Linked DNA regions of Homo sapiens: regions 1, 3, 4 and 5 are each linked to region 2. The links are contacts of gene promoters, found by promoter capture Hi-C in human tissues and cell types (Jung and others, 2019). All regions are on one chromosome and are shown on one strand. The core of a region is centred on a gene start or on the middle of the fragment in contact, and the rest is flanking DNA. Distances in the headings are between cores, read along the strand shown.

Region 1 (2,700 bases), core at 98-2,597, 310 kb after region 2:
TCTGAAGATGAAAGAAGGGAAACAGCCCAGGTCCTAGCCTTGGAAAAAACAAAGAGCAATGCAGGCTTGATGCAGAGTCCGCAGGAATTAAAGAGATTTGTTTCTGAAGCAAAGTGCCAGGATTCTCCCCAGTGCCAAACGGAGGAAATGCTTGGTATTTCTGGAGCAAAGCACTCCAAGTGTGCTGTAACATCAGTATTATTGGGCATTTTTTGAAATTACTAGTTACACTTGGTTGAATAAATGCTCCTAAATGCAATTAATGTATTATATGTTAACTTCATGGATAAACTAAGAAAAAATAGTCATTATCTTGTCTCTCTAAGAGATACTACAAAGCAATATGCACATACTGAGAGGCTTTGTGTTGTTGCCACAGTTGTAGGAGACAAACAAGGAGAGACCAGAGTTCCCTGGCCCAGCTGGGGATGTCCCTTCAGCTCCCCAACACCCACACACAGACTGCTTCATGCACAGCCCTTCCCCCAACTTGGAAGCCCCCGTTGAGAAGCTGTGTTTGGGTAAGTTGGGAAGTGCAGCTTCCTGCCTGGTCCCAAATGCACCCCCAAAAGCAGATGACCTTCATGGACCTCCCCAAAGGTGGATGATGGCACAAAAGTAGAGTCTGATCCCAGGAAAAAGGACGAAGCCTCCAGAAATAGTGTGGCTTTGACTCTCAGCCTCCCACTGCAGCTCTCCTCAAACCAATCCTCATCGCTTTTTTAGAAGAATGAGATAAGCTCACCAGATGATTTCCTCTGGGCTTCCCTCTTCAGGATTATGAGGAGACTCCAGAATGGATTGTGAGTACTGGGTCTCAGTTCCCCTCTGCAGAGAAGATTTGCCATTTGCTTGACAATTCGTTGTGCCAGGTACTGTACTTAGAAGGCTTCACTCCTTTGTATAGCCACTAGCAGTGGATGTACTACCTCCTTGTGAGGTCCCTTGGCAACAGCATAGCATAATTGGGGTATTGTTAGCTATGCAGAACCTCACCTGACCCAAACCCTGCTGAAACAGACTACATTTGAATTAGATTCTTCAGGTGATTTGGAAAGGCATTAGCTGGGAACTACTGATTTGAACTGTTTGAGAAGTTAAACTTTATTTAATGGATCTGAGATCAAATTCCAGCTCCACCACTTGCTATGTGACTTCAGCAGAACCACCCAGCTAAACCACTCTTGAATTTTTTTTTTTTTTTTTTTGAGATGGAGTCTCACTCTGTCGCCCAGGCTGGAGTGCAGTGGCGTGATCTTGGCTCACTGCAACCTCTGCCTCCTGGGTTCAGGCGATTATCCTGCCTCAGCCTCCTGAGTAGCTCAGAATACAGACACCCACCACCATGCCCAGCTAATTTTTGCATTTTTAGTAGAGACGGGGTTTCACCATGTTGGCCAGGATGGCCTCGATCTCCTGATCTTGTGATCCACCCGCCTCAGCTTCCCAAAGTGCTGGAATTACAGGCATGAGCAACCGTGCCTGGCCTGAATTCTTGACTTGCAGAAACTATGTGAAATAATAAATATTTATTGCTGTTTTAAGTTACTGCAGTATGGGATTATTGATTATGGCACAATAGGTAATTAATATGCCTGCTATAGTAGCCAAATATATATACAGTCTTTCCCAATAAAAATTTTCATATCTAAGATCAATCAAAAGAAATAAAAAGAAGGAAATAAAATTCTTTTTCACTGGCACTTAATAAAGTATTCCAATATTACAGAAAAGCATAAAGCACACAGGTCCAAGATAAGAAATGTTAGCAGAGGGGACATATCCTTCCCATGTCCCCTTAGTTTTCCATCGAAGGGGTTGATTAACCACTTCATTTGGGGAGGGTTCCCTTAGCATTTTCTTCCAGGAGCATCTTTATGTCCCTTCACACTCTCATCCCTGGGGGAGCCAACTTAACTGAATGCTGCATTTGGGAGAAGGGCCTGAAAATACTCAGCTCTGTCTGGTCCTCTCAGCTACAGAGGGAGGCTGACTCTGCAACTTCACACATAAGCTTATGGAAATGGCCCTTGCAGGGAAGGCCTGAAGTGGTCCAGTATGTCCAAAGAATCTGTACAGGGTCTTAAACTGAGTGGAGTGTTAGGACCCACGTGTTCACATGCTTAAGCCATGTCCTCTGAGCCAGCTTTCATCAGTAGCAACATGGCACTTTGATTTTTTGATTTGGGGTTTTAAATTTAAGTCTTTAATCCATCCTGAGTTAATTTTTGTATCTGGTGTAAGGAAGGGGACCAATTTCAATTATCTGCATATGTGTATCAGGTCTCTTTAAACTGTTTTCTCAATTAATCCTAATTCATTCCCATGAGGTACATCATTGTCCCCATTATGTAAAGTAAGAAACTGAGATCCATAAGTGCACATTCATTATTTCAACAAATATTTATTACATGCCAATAATATACCAGGAACTGCTCCAGACAATACATGAAAGTGATGCCTCTAGGGGAATGAGCTTGCGGGAGTCACAAAGTTGTAAGAAAGAAAGGAGCCTGGACTCAACTTCCGACTGACTCACCCTGCACTTTCCTGAGCAGCTGACTGTCACACAGCTGGGTGGTTCAGGCCAGTACAGACCAGGCACCAGGTGAAAGGTTTCATGTTTCATCTTTCATTCAACCCTCAGCCTTCAGGGGATGCTAGTCACATTGCATCATTCTACCTGAATATGTCCCCAGA
Region 2 (2,886 bases), core at 306-2,805:
CCAGCTTGATCACGCGAAAACGGGAACTACATGTGGTGGGAGGCTGAGATGGGGCTGCAGTCACTGGCCCGGCGGATGAGCCCGCGAGCTGGGGGCCGCCGGGTGCTCCGGGGGCGGGGGCCGAAGTGGCAGCCGCCGCCAGGGTACTGGCGAGCGCCCCAGACACGCTCCGGGCCGAAACGACTCCTCCTCCGTTGGCGGGAGCAGCAGCCGCCGCTGCCAGCTGCCCATCTAGGAGGAGGTTTGGGGAGACGGTCCCGGGAGTCTCCGCATCCCCAACATTGTTAAGCGTCTCTTCGGAAGAGCTGCGCTCGCAGACCTCCTCAGGGCCATAATCCGTGGCCCGAGAGACGTCGAAAATCTCGGAGGAGACGTCCTCTGTGCGTGACTCGTCCGGGTCGTCCAAGCTCTCGGTGTCCTCGGTGATGCTAGTGGCCACCTGGGCCGTGGTGACACTGGTGATCTGGAAGCAGCTCTTCTTCTTGGCCGGCATCTTGGACATGGTGAAGAAGGCTGGAGGGCAGAGAGGCACGCCGGCTCCTCTGGGTCCTGTCGGAAACCGGGGAGGGCAGAGCACGGGCCCCCAAAGACAAAGTCCGAGTCTGCGCTGGGGTCTGAGGCCCGCCGCTGTTAAGAGTCACGGGCTGATCCAGGCGCTGGCCGCCCGGTGAGACATCCTCCTCCTCGTTTCCTTCTCTGTGTCGGTCTCTTCGGCTCTGCCCCCGTCTCAGTCCCGCGGCGGCTCCTCCTTCCTTTTTAGCTCTCGCAGCCGCGGCGCCTCAATTCAATTCCCTCAGAGGCGGCGAGAGCGCGAACCCAGGGGCGGGCCGGCTGCTTCCTCTCTCGTCTCCGGGCAGCCGTGGTCAGTCCAGCTCGGCGCTCGGCGCGGTCAGCAGGCCTTGGCTGGGGGTGGGAGTGGGAGGGCGAAGAGGAGGAGGAGGAGGCGGTGGCGGCGGCGTGAGGGGCGGTGCTGCCCCGCTCGGGCTCCTCAGGCCGGTGCCGGCGTCAGCGCTGGGCTCTCTGACTGAGGGAAGGAGCGGCGAGTCCGGAGTCGGAGATGCCTAATTCAGCCGGGAGCCGCGGGCCGGAGCTGGCTGAAGGTCCGCGGGCGGGCGGTGGGGCTGTGGCGCGGGCAGGCGGCCCTCCCTCCCCGGCTCTAGCCGGAGCTCAGCCCCAGGGACATGTCGACTGCCTCAGGCGGAAACCCGCTCTGGGGGAGGGGAAAGCCGGCTCGGTCCTCCCCTTACAGGGGGAACCACCCCTGCGGGCGGGCGGCGACGGCGGTCTCGGCCTCCCCTCGCGGCTTCTCTCAGAGAGGGGCGGCGGCGGCAGACCGCTGGCACGGGACCGGAGGCGCCCCGGCTGTGTGAGGTAGCGGTGGTGGCTTCTCCGGCTCCTCCTCGGTGCGCCCAATTCCTAAACCCCGAAGAAACTGAAATTCAAACTGCTGAAGCGGCGGCTGCAGCTCCCTCCGCTGGGCCAAGATGGGGCTGAAATGGCCGCGCCAGGGATGCTGGGAGGAGCAGCAGCCCCGCTGCCGCCGCCGCTGCCGACTAAAATGCCGCCGCTGCCGCAGCCACCGCCAGCGCCGCAGCCGCCGCCGTTCCGTGACGCACCGGCGTCGTGACGTCACCGCTCCGCCCCCTCCGGTTTCCTGCAGTTTCGCGTGGAACCTGGGGTGGGGGGCAATGGGCGGGGCTAAAGGTTAAAAAAGGGAGCGGTTTCTTTATTTAAAATTTTTAAAATTTAAATTTTGTGTTGTAGGTTCTTTAAGCATTGACGAGCTAAAGACCATTTTAAATTCTAAGCCTAGGGAAGCTTACAATGGAACTAATCAGATGTTTTTATGTCGGTTTGTTCCGAGACAGTGGAAGACTGGAGGTCATGTGCTTGTGTCTAATGTTTAGCAAAATCTTAGTGAAACGAGGGCGATAGGAATGGGGGCTGGGGAAGACTTAGATGGGATAAAAAGAGGTGCGGCTGGAAGAACTAAATCACTTTAAAACTTCTGAAAATAAATGTTGACCATTGTAGTCAGAGGAGTAAAATGTTCAGAGAAATGGGGATGATTAAACAAGAACGGCAAGCCAGATTGAGTCAGAAAATTATCTTCCTGCCAGAAATTCTGTCTCCCACAACGGCATCAGGGGGTGGTTACTTGCCCAGGGTGTAGTCAGTTTTTAAAAAGCTTAAGGGTTACCAACATATTCCTAAATTTCCTGAATTTGCTGTGATTCCAGGATTCATTTAAACTCTTGAGACTGTTTTACTTTCGGCACGAAATCAGCTCATGGGCTTTATAAATGTAGAACCTACTGCATTATAGTTCTTCTTTTTGTTTATTCTAAAACTGTTAGTAGCAGCCAGCGTATTATATGATTTGGATTGGGCCATGAACAACCGTAACGAGTGATAAAGCACCCTTTCCTGTTCCAATGCAAAGAACAACTATGAAAAGAAAGTACTGGCAAATTTATCATCTTGTAGTTAGTTCCTGGCCAAAGAAAATGGTAAGGCCATTCTTTTAAGCAGTTAAAAAAAAATGGGGATGGGCTCTTAAACTTTGGCATGCTAAGGCCATTCTTTTAAGCAGTTTAAAAAAATGGGGATGGGCTCCTAAACTTTGACATACTAAAGCAGTCGTCATTTAGGTAAAATCTAAGTCTTAATGGAAATCGTGATTTCATATCTACTGCAGCGTTAGCAATCACATAATGATAACTTAAATCAGTAAATCGTTGAACTCGGTTCTCTAATCTTTGAAGAATAGAAATACTTTTTATCCCAAAAGATGTTTTGAGAATTAAATTTGCAGAGAATTTTTTAGGTCTTTAGTTGTAATTTATAGAGCTAGGTCTTTTAACTTTAGTGGAAACCATGCCCTCC
Region 3 (2,718 bases), core at 124-2,623, 460 kb after region 2:
GGAAGTTAAGAGAACACCAAGCAGGATAAATCCCCAAAAAAGAAAGAAGAAAAAGAGAAGAAATGAAGAGAAGAAAAAAAAAAAAAGAATGAAGGAAAATGAAGAGAATCTGAGGGACTTCTGGGATAGCATCAAATAGAAGAAAACATGCATTATGGGAACCTCAGAAGGAGAAGAAAGAAAGGGGTAGAGGACCTATGTGAAGAAATAATGGTTGGAAACTTCCCAAATCTGAGAGAAATGGATATACAAATTCAAGAATCTCAGATAATTCCAACCAGAATAAATCTAAAGGGATCTAAGGGATCTACACTGAGACATATAATCATATTATAATTAAACTGTCTAGTGACAGAGATCTTGAAAGCAGCAAAAAAAAAAAAAAGCAACCCAGTACATACAAAGGAGCTCATATTAGATTCTCAGCAGACTTAGCAGAAACCCTGCAGGCTAGGAAGTGGGATGATGTATTCGAAAGAAAAGCGGTGCCAATCAAGAATGCTATGTTTAGCAAAAGTGCCCTTTCAAAACAAACAAAAACAGAAATTAAGACTTTCTCAGATAAAAATTGAGGGAGTTTATCACCACTAGACTTATTCTATAGGAAATTCTAAAAGAGCACCTACAAGTAAGTGAAAAGCTGATAAACAGGAACATAAAACCATGTATTAATAAAAACATAAGTCCCAGGTAAAGTTAAATATATAGACAAATATAGAATCCTGTATTATTGTAATGTAGGTGAGTAAATCACTTATAAATCTGGTATATAATTTTTTTTTTTTTCTAGACAGGGTCTGGCTCTGTCACCCAGGCTGGAGTGCAGTGGCATGATCTCGACTCTCGGCAACCTTCGCCTCCCAGGCTCAAGCCATCCTCTTGCCTCAGTCCCCCAAGTAGTTGGGACCACAGGCACTTGCCACCATGCCTGGCTAATTTTTGTGTTTTTTTGTAGAGATGAGGTTTCACCATTTTGCCCAGGCTGGTCTCAAACTCCTGAACTCAAGTGATCCGCCCACCTTGGCCTCCCAAAGTGCTGCGATTACAGCCATGAGTCACGGCACGTGGCCCAGAATTTTTCTAAAAGCATAAAAAGTAATAATTACATTAAATGATAAGCAATGTAAAAACAGGCAATTTGAGTCATCAATAACATAGAATGGGAGGCAGAGAGACAAGGATCATGGTTTTTATATGTGATTGAAGTTAATTTGTCAGTTTGAAATATTTAAAAGGTCAGTTTAAAACAGATTGTTAGAACTTTTAAGATGTTTTATGGAATTGCAAGGGTAACCATAAGGAAGATATCTGTAGAATATATACAAAGGGAAATAAGGGAATCAAAACGTCACTAGAAAAAATCAACAAAAAACACAGTGAGAGGAAAGACAAAGCGGTAAGACAGACAAAAAACAATGAACAAAAGTAATAGTCCTTTCCTGTCAGTAATTATTTTAAATGTAAAAAGATCAAACATACCAAGACATTGATTGAATGGCTAAAAAATATGAGATCCAACAATAAAGTGCTTACAAGAAAATCATTTTATATCTAAAAACACGTGGGGACCAGGCACGGTGGCTCACACCTGTAATGCCAGCACTTTGGGAGGCCGAGGTGGGCAGATCATGAGGTTAGGAGTTCGAGACCAGCCTGGCCAGCATGGTGAAACCCCATCTCTACTAAAAATACAAAAAATTAGCTGGACATGGTGGCGTGTGCCTGTAATCCCAGCTACTCGGGAGGCTGAGGCAGGAGAATTGCTTGAACCCAGGAGGTGGAGGTTACAGTGAGCCGAGATCGCGCCACTGCACTCCTGCCTGGGTGACAGAGCAAGACTCCTTCTCAAACAAACAAACAAAAAGCACACATAGGCTAAAAGTGAAAAGGTGGAAAAGATATCCTATGCAAATGAGAAACTGGAGAGCAGGAGTGGCCATACATATATCAAACAGAATAGACTTTAAGAAAAAAAACTATCATAAGAGAAAAACGGGGGCATTATATAATGACATAATGGTAAATTCACCAAAAAGATATAACAATAAATATATACACATCTAACATCAAAGCAGTCAAATACGTGAAGCAACATTGACAGAACTGAAGGAAGATGGCCAGGTGCGGTGGCTCACGCCTGTAATTCCAGCACTTTGGGAGGCCCAGGCGGTCGGATCACCAGAGGTCAGGAGACCAGTCTGGCCAATATAGTGAAACCTCATCTCAACTAAAAATACAAAAAAGTACCTGGGTGTAGTGGCAGGCGCCTATAATCCCAGCTATTCAGGAGATTGAGGCAGAAGAATCGCTTAAGCCCAGCGGCAGGAGGTTGCAGTGAGCCAAGATTGCACCACTTCGCTCAAGCTTGGGCAAAAGAGCGAAACTCCGCCTTTAAAAAAAAAAAAAAGAACTGAAAGAAGAAATGAGCAGCAACACAATACTAACAGGCGACTTCAATACCCCACTTTCAGTAAGAATAGAACAACCAGACAGAAGATCAAACAGAAGACACAGATGACTTGAATAACTCTTTAGACCAATTGGAACTAACAAACATATACAGAACACTTCACCCAACAACAGGGGATACACATTCTCAAACGCACATGTAATATTCTCCAAGACAGACTACATATTAGACCACGAAAAAAGCCTTAAATGTAAGAAGATTGAAGTCATACAAATATATTCTCCAACCTCAGCACAATGAAACTACAA
Region 4 (2,749 bases), core at 229-2,728, 480 kb after region 2:
ACTTAAATTGGACTCCAGTTTTACACAATCAATTCATGTGGATTAAACACAAAAGACAAAAATATAAAGCTTTCAGAAGGTAATATAAAATAACATCTGTATGATCTTGGGATAGAAAACGTACTCTAAAAACACAGAAGAGGCTGGGCATGGTGGCTCACGCCTGTAATCCCAGCACTTTGGGAGGCCAAGGTGGGCAGATCATGAGGTCAGGAGATCGAGATCATCCTGGCTAACATGGTGAAACCCCATCTCTACTAAAAATACAAAAAGGAGCCAGGCATGGTGGCGGGCGCCTGTAGTCCCAGCTACTCGGCAGGATGAGGCAAGAGAATAGTGTGAACTCGGGAGGCGGAGCTTGCAGTGAGCTGAGATCACACCACTCCACTCCAGCCTAGGGGACAGAGCGAGACTCCGCCTCAAAAAAACAAATCAAGACAAAACAAAACAAAAATAGAAGAATACTACCATGAAAGGCAAGAATTCTGGTCCATAAACTAGAAAAAGACAGTTAAAACACAAGAATTATTGAAGAACTAAATTGCCATACTCTACGCCTCCCTCTGGAGGCTTGTAGGAACATATAAAGAATTCCTCCCATATATGAAACAGACACACGGGCATATATCATGAAAGGTACTTCGTGAAAGTGAAAATCCAACTGGCAAATAATGTGAACAGATATTTAACCTCATTGCAAGAAGGGAAATAAAAAGTAAAACAACGAGTTATAAACCCACCAGAATGCTAAAATTTAAAAGTCCATCAGTACAAAGTATTGGATAAATACATAGAACAACAGGAACTCCTATAGACTGTTGGTGAGAGTAGAAATTGGTACCATCAATCACTTTGGAAATGATTTTGCATTACCCAATAAAATTGAAAATAGCTATATACTATGATCAAATTAATCTACTTCTAGGTATATATGCTAAAGAAATTCATGGACATATGCACCAGGATATATGTACAAGTATATTCTCAAAAGTATGATTTATAATAGCCCTAAACTGAAAAAAAAAGAATGTCAATTAACAGTAAAGTGGGTAAGTAAAATCTTTAAAAGACAGAATGAAAGTAAATGAACTATACCTAAATGCAACTAAGTGTATAAATTTCATTAAAAAATTAATCAGAGGTAAGAAAAATACAATTCAAAAATAGGCAAAATTAAGCCAACTGTTTAGGTATGCATTCGTATGTGGTACAACTTGAGAAAGGCAGTGAAATTATCATAAACCAGGATAGTGATTACCTCCAGAGGACAAGAAAGGATTATTTATCTAGAAGGGAACATAACAGCTCCTGGGGTGGCAGTAATGTTCTATCTCTTGAACTGGATGATTCTAGAAATATGTATTCTACATACTCTTCTGTATAAATGTTATACTTCACATTTTGAAAAAAGTGATGATAAACACCACTCCATAGAGAAAAACAGTTATGCTGATGGGTTCAAAATGGGTTCAGGCTGCCAAGCAACCATATTATATTTCCCTAGTCCATTCCTCCTCCTACTCTCCTGGAATAATAGTATTTTATACCTCTGTTCTTAAAAGCTCCAATACCTCCTCCTCTGTCCTCACCCTCAGTTGGTGATTTCCTACCTGAGAGAAATTAAAGCAAAGAACATTTCCACAGACTCACCACTACAAATACCCACCTACTGTGATTTTTCACCCACATATTCTACTTTCCCTTAGCTCAAGTCTCTATGATACTACCTAAGGCCAGTTCACCTTTTTGTGCAAGATATCCAATCTCCTCTTGCCTTCTCAAGAACATTACAGGGACTCTCCCATCTGTCACCTACATCAATTTCCTTTAGCAAACAAACATGCTGTTATTTCTTGACTCAACTTCCCCCAGCAGCTATGACCCCATTTCTTTGCTCCCTTTTTTAGTTAAACTTCTTACAAAAACTATCTCTAATTCCTCTCTTTCCACCATTCTCTCTTAAATCAACTACAATCAGATTTTTGGCCTGACCACTCTGTCAACTGCTCATCAAGATCATCAATAGTCTCTAGTGGTCAATACTGAGCTCTCATCTTACTTATGTTCAGCAGCACTGACACAGGTTATCATTCCTTGCTCCCTGATAGATTTGCATCACTGGGTTTCTGGTAAATCACACTCTCCTGATTTTCTTCCTATGTAATTGGTCACACCTTCTCAGTCTCCACTGCTGCCACTTCTGATTCCTCTTCTACTGAATGATGGAATGCCCCACGGTGTCTTTGGTATTCTCTCTCTCTGTACGCACTCTCTTGGTAATCTCATCCAGTCTAATGATATAAATACATTTTCATGCTGGTATTTCCAGTTCAGACCTCTCTCTTAAACTTCTAACATCTAATAGACATCTGAAATTCCATATGTTCAATACCAATCTTCCAATTTCCCTCCTAAAACCTGCTCTCTCATACATTAACCATCCTTATTGCTATTTAAGGACTGTCCTTAAATAGACCATCCATTTTGTTGTTCAGACCAAAAAATCTGGAGTCATCCTTGTCTCCTCTTCCAATATCTAGTCCATCAGTAAATTCTGTGTATTCCATCTCCAGATACAGCCAGTATTTAAAGATTTCTTCTCCTCCACTGATATCACCCCAAGCCACATTTATATCACACCTGAATTACTACAATAACTTTCCTGTCTGTTCTCTCTGTTTATACCCTTTGCCATCTAATAACCTATTCTTAATGTCAGCAGAAGGATCCTTTTAACAGTTAACTGAGA
Region 5 (2,700 bases), core at 52-2,551, 340 kb after region 2:
CTGAATTCAGGACTGTGTAATGCTTCCATCTGAATGCCCTTCAGTAAGGCCAGCCTCACCTTTTCACCACCGCCCCCCTGCTCATTATTGGTTTTCACCTGAATTCCTCACAGGTTCCTGACTGAGCCCTGAAGGCGTTAAAGTTTATGAAAACAGTTAGAGTTTGCTGACAAATATTTGGACTAAGGGTATTGATTGGAAGATGTGAAATTCTTTCTTTCCAGCCTCTGTAATTTGTGTCAAATGTTCAGATCGCTGTGTGCTCCATTGTCCTCAGAAGTCCAGGCGTGCCATGTCACTCATCCGCACCTGGACCCTCTCCCCATGATAAGAGCTTCTCTCTGTTGCTAGCTCCTGGATGCTTCACCACCCTTTATTAGTTTCCTAATCCTGCCCACATTTAAGAAAATAATCCTCTCATTGCATTGTCTTCAGTTAAACCCTTTGATTGTTTCATCTAATTTCTGTTAGGATAGTAACCATCACAACTCCCTGCCCAAATCCTACAATAAGTTCTCAGTGTCCTAATGATCAAATCTAAACTCTTTTATGCCCTTCCTTCCTGACCTCAGCTCCTGCCACTCTCCCCTTGTCCAGTAGGTTCCATTCTGTTCCAGTTGTTTCCTGTTGGGGGCTGTTTGCATCAGTGTTCCCCCCTCTAGATTGTTCTCTACATGCTGGTGTGGCTGTCTCATTCTCACTGTCATCGTGCCAGGTCAGATGTCACCTCTTCAGAAAGGCCTTTCCTGGCTACTTGAAGAAAAGTAGCTCTCCTCCCTAGACCCTCTCCAGCCATTCCATTACCCTGGTGTACTTTCTTTTTTTAAAGCTTTTGTCACTATCTGAAATTACATAGATTGTATTTGCAAACACATTTGTTGTCTTTCTTTGTTCCACACTAACCTAAGCTCCAAGGAGGCCAAGGCTTTATCTTATTTACCACTGTATGGTCAGAGTTACTGCAAAAAAGAGATTATGGCACACTCAAACTGAGTCAAAGGAGTTTAGTAAAGGAATCATTTAGAAAGATGAGGGCAACAGGGGATAGGGCAATACTCTGGGGCTAGTAACACCAGGGTCATCAGAGTGTTTGCCTGAACTCTGAGAGGACTGTCTGGTGGGCAACAGCTGCTAGTAACAAACCCACAGCAAACTGGCAGGGAGGCAGGTTCACTGGTCACTCTCCTCCTTCTCATTGTCCAACCTCTTGTCACAGGTCCCCATTATCCAATAGGAAGTTGGAGGGCAAAAGACTCAATGCAGCCCATACCAGTCGGCTTCCTGGGACACAGCACAGGGTAAATGGCCGAGCGCCTCTCAAGAAGCGTAGCATCATCTTCACTAGGCTCAAGATGAAGCTCAGCACCAGGCCCACCATAGTTTCCAGCCTCAGGGGCACCATTCACCCAGATTTGTGCAAAACGGTGGCTGTGCCTGGCAGTAGGATATCAGAGAAGGAGGCATGGAATGAATCCATGAGTTTTCATGGGTTTGGCCCTGGTTTCTAGCTACTGGTTGGGGGGACATTCCCTCCCTCTGTAACACAGGGCAATCAGGACAAATGAAGGTTCACTCCCTAGTGGGCTTCCTGAAAGAGTTCCCAAGACCTCAGCCATTGCCCTGTAAGATGGAGAGAGAAAATTCCTGTAACTGCTAGGCTTGTACATTTTCGGCTAAGGACATTTCTGAAGTTGAAGAACAATCTCTATTTATGTTCAGCATGGAAACTGGAGCTTGTTTTGCATTGTGTTTGGAGGCAGAGAGGAATCAGGTAGCAGGCTGGCAACTCTTCTGATTTTTTCATGGGCTACAGAGCTCTCCAGGCTTTGTGGGGGTAGGAACAAAATAATCCATCTACAGGATTAGTGGCTGAATGGGGAAGAAGCCAAGTCATTACACACTATGCCATCAACTTTTAGCAAGGTGTAGAGTTACCATGGTGACATGTATGGGGTAGGTATATCTAAGTGGATTATTAATCAGAAATCCCCCTTCAGTGCCTACTAGGTATGGGAATGGTGAGAATTCAAAGCAATGTGAAGACAGATGTATTCCCTTTAATATTAAGCAATGAGAGGAGCTATAGATGCATGATTGAGAAGCAATTACAAGGGGACATGTTAGATTACTAAGAGTGAAGTGGGAGCTACTTGTCAAAAGAGTTTGAACATAAGGCTGGAGAATAATATGATGTGATGAAAATTGCTGCCAGAACAATCTTCCTCACTTCCTCAGTGTAGGGCAGGTTGAAAGAGGAGGTGGCCTGGGATGGCTGTGAAAATGAAGAAGCTGGAACAGATGGGACAGACTGCCAGAATGTACAGCCCAGTCATCCCGAGTATGCCTGATGGCTAGGCTATGTCATCCCATAAATACAACTGAGCTGTAAACAGCTGTGAGCTCTCTGTGGCTGTGTTTACCTAGTAAATTTAATTTCCCAACACATTTTTCTACTTGATCCATCCTATACTATTTGGATGAAATAATGTCATTGCTTTCAATTACTTTGCATTACTTTTGTTACAAAAGGAAAATGACTCCCTAGCACGTGTTAATTTCTGGTAGGAATTCCGGTTCCTTGTACAGAAAGCTGCTGCATACTTGTTGACTGATGACACACTGATCAATAAAAAAAAGATAATAAAACCAGTGAGTACATGTCCTCTGGGGGCCTTTTAACTTCAAGCCTATAATGCAGAA

What was found. The method cuts DNA at HindIII sites, captures the fragments that hold promoters and counts their contacts. A contact is called where the count stands out against the background at its distance.
Region 1: a contact is called between a fragment that was not itself captured here and the fragment with the promoter of TSC22D2 in region 2, in 1 of the 25 tissues and cell types used here (mesenchymal stem cells).
Region 3: a contact is called between a fragment that was not itself captured here and the fragment with the promoter of TSC22D2 in region 2, in 1 of the 25 tissues and cell types used here (dorsolateral prefrontal cortex).
Region 4: a contact is called between a fragment that was not itself captured here and the fragment with the promoter of TSC22D2 in region 2, in 1 of the 25 tissues and cell types used here (hippocampus).
Region 5: a fragment that was not itself captured here is called in contact with the fragment with the promoter of TSC22D2 in region 2 in 1 of the 25 tissues and cell types used here (IMR-90 fibroblasts).

Annotation. Positions count from the first base shown.
Region 1 is chr3:150,094,643-150,097,342 of GRCh38, reverse strand. It overlaps LOC105374313 (a long non-coding RNA gene), which reads right to left and starts at 900. Exons shown (of 3, transcript NR_136187.1): 1 at 746-900. The HindIII fragment of the contact is 4,543 bases long and covers 1-2,700 here.
Region 2 is chr3:150,406,967-150,409,852 of GRCh38, reverse strand. It overlaps TSC22D2 (TSC22 domain family member 2), which reads right to left and starts at 1,555. Exons shown (of 3, transcript NM_001303264.2): 1 at 1-1,555. The coding sequence starts at 502. RefSeq lists silencers at 25-194, 865-1,464 and an enhancer at 445-494. The HindIII fragment of the contact is 4,156 bases long and covers 1-2,003 here.
Region 3 is chr3:149,947,097-149,949,814 of GRCh38, reverse strand. The region is part of intron 8 of RNF13 (ring finger protein 13); the gene reads right to left. Among named protein-coding and RNA genes, the nearest start is that of PFN2, 22 kb to the left of the region's middle. The HindIII fragment of the contact is 8,745 bases long and covers 1-2,718 here.
Region 4 is chr3:149,923,902-149,926,650 of GRCh38, reverse strand. The region is part of intron 8 of RNF13 (ring finger protein 13); the gene reads right to left. Among named protein-coding and RNA genes, the nearest start is that of PFN2, 46 kb to the left of the region's middle. The HindIII fragment of the contact is 7,700 bases long and covers 1-2,749 here.
Region 5 is chr3:150,068,951-150,071,650 of GRCh38, reverse strand. No RefSeq gene overlaps it. Among named protein-coding and RNA genes, the nearest start is that of LINC01998, 12 kb to the left of the region's middle. The HindIII fragment of the contact is 4,741 bases long and covers 1-2,700 here.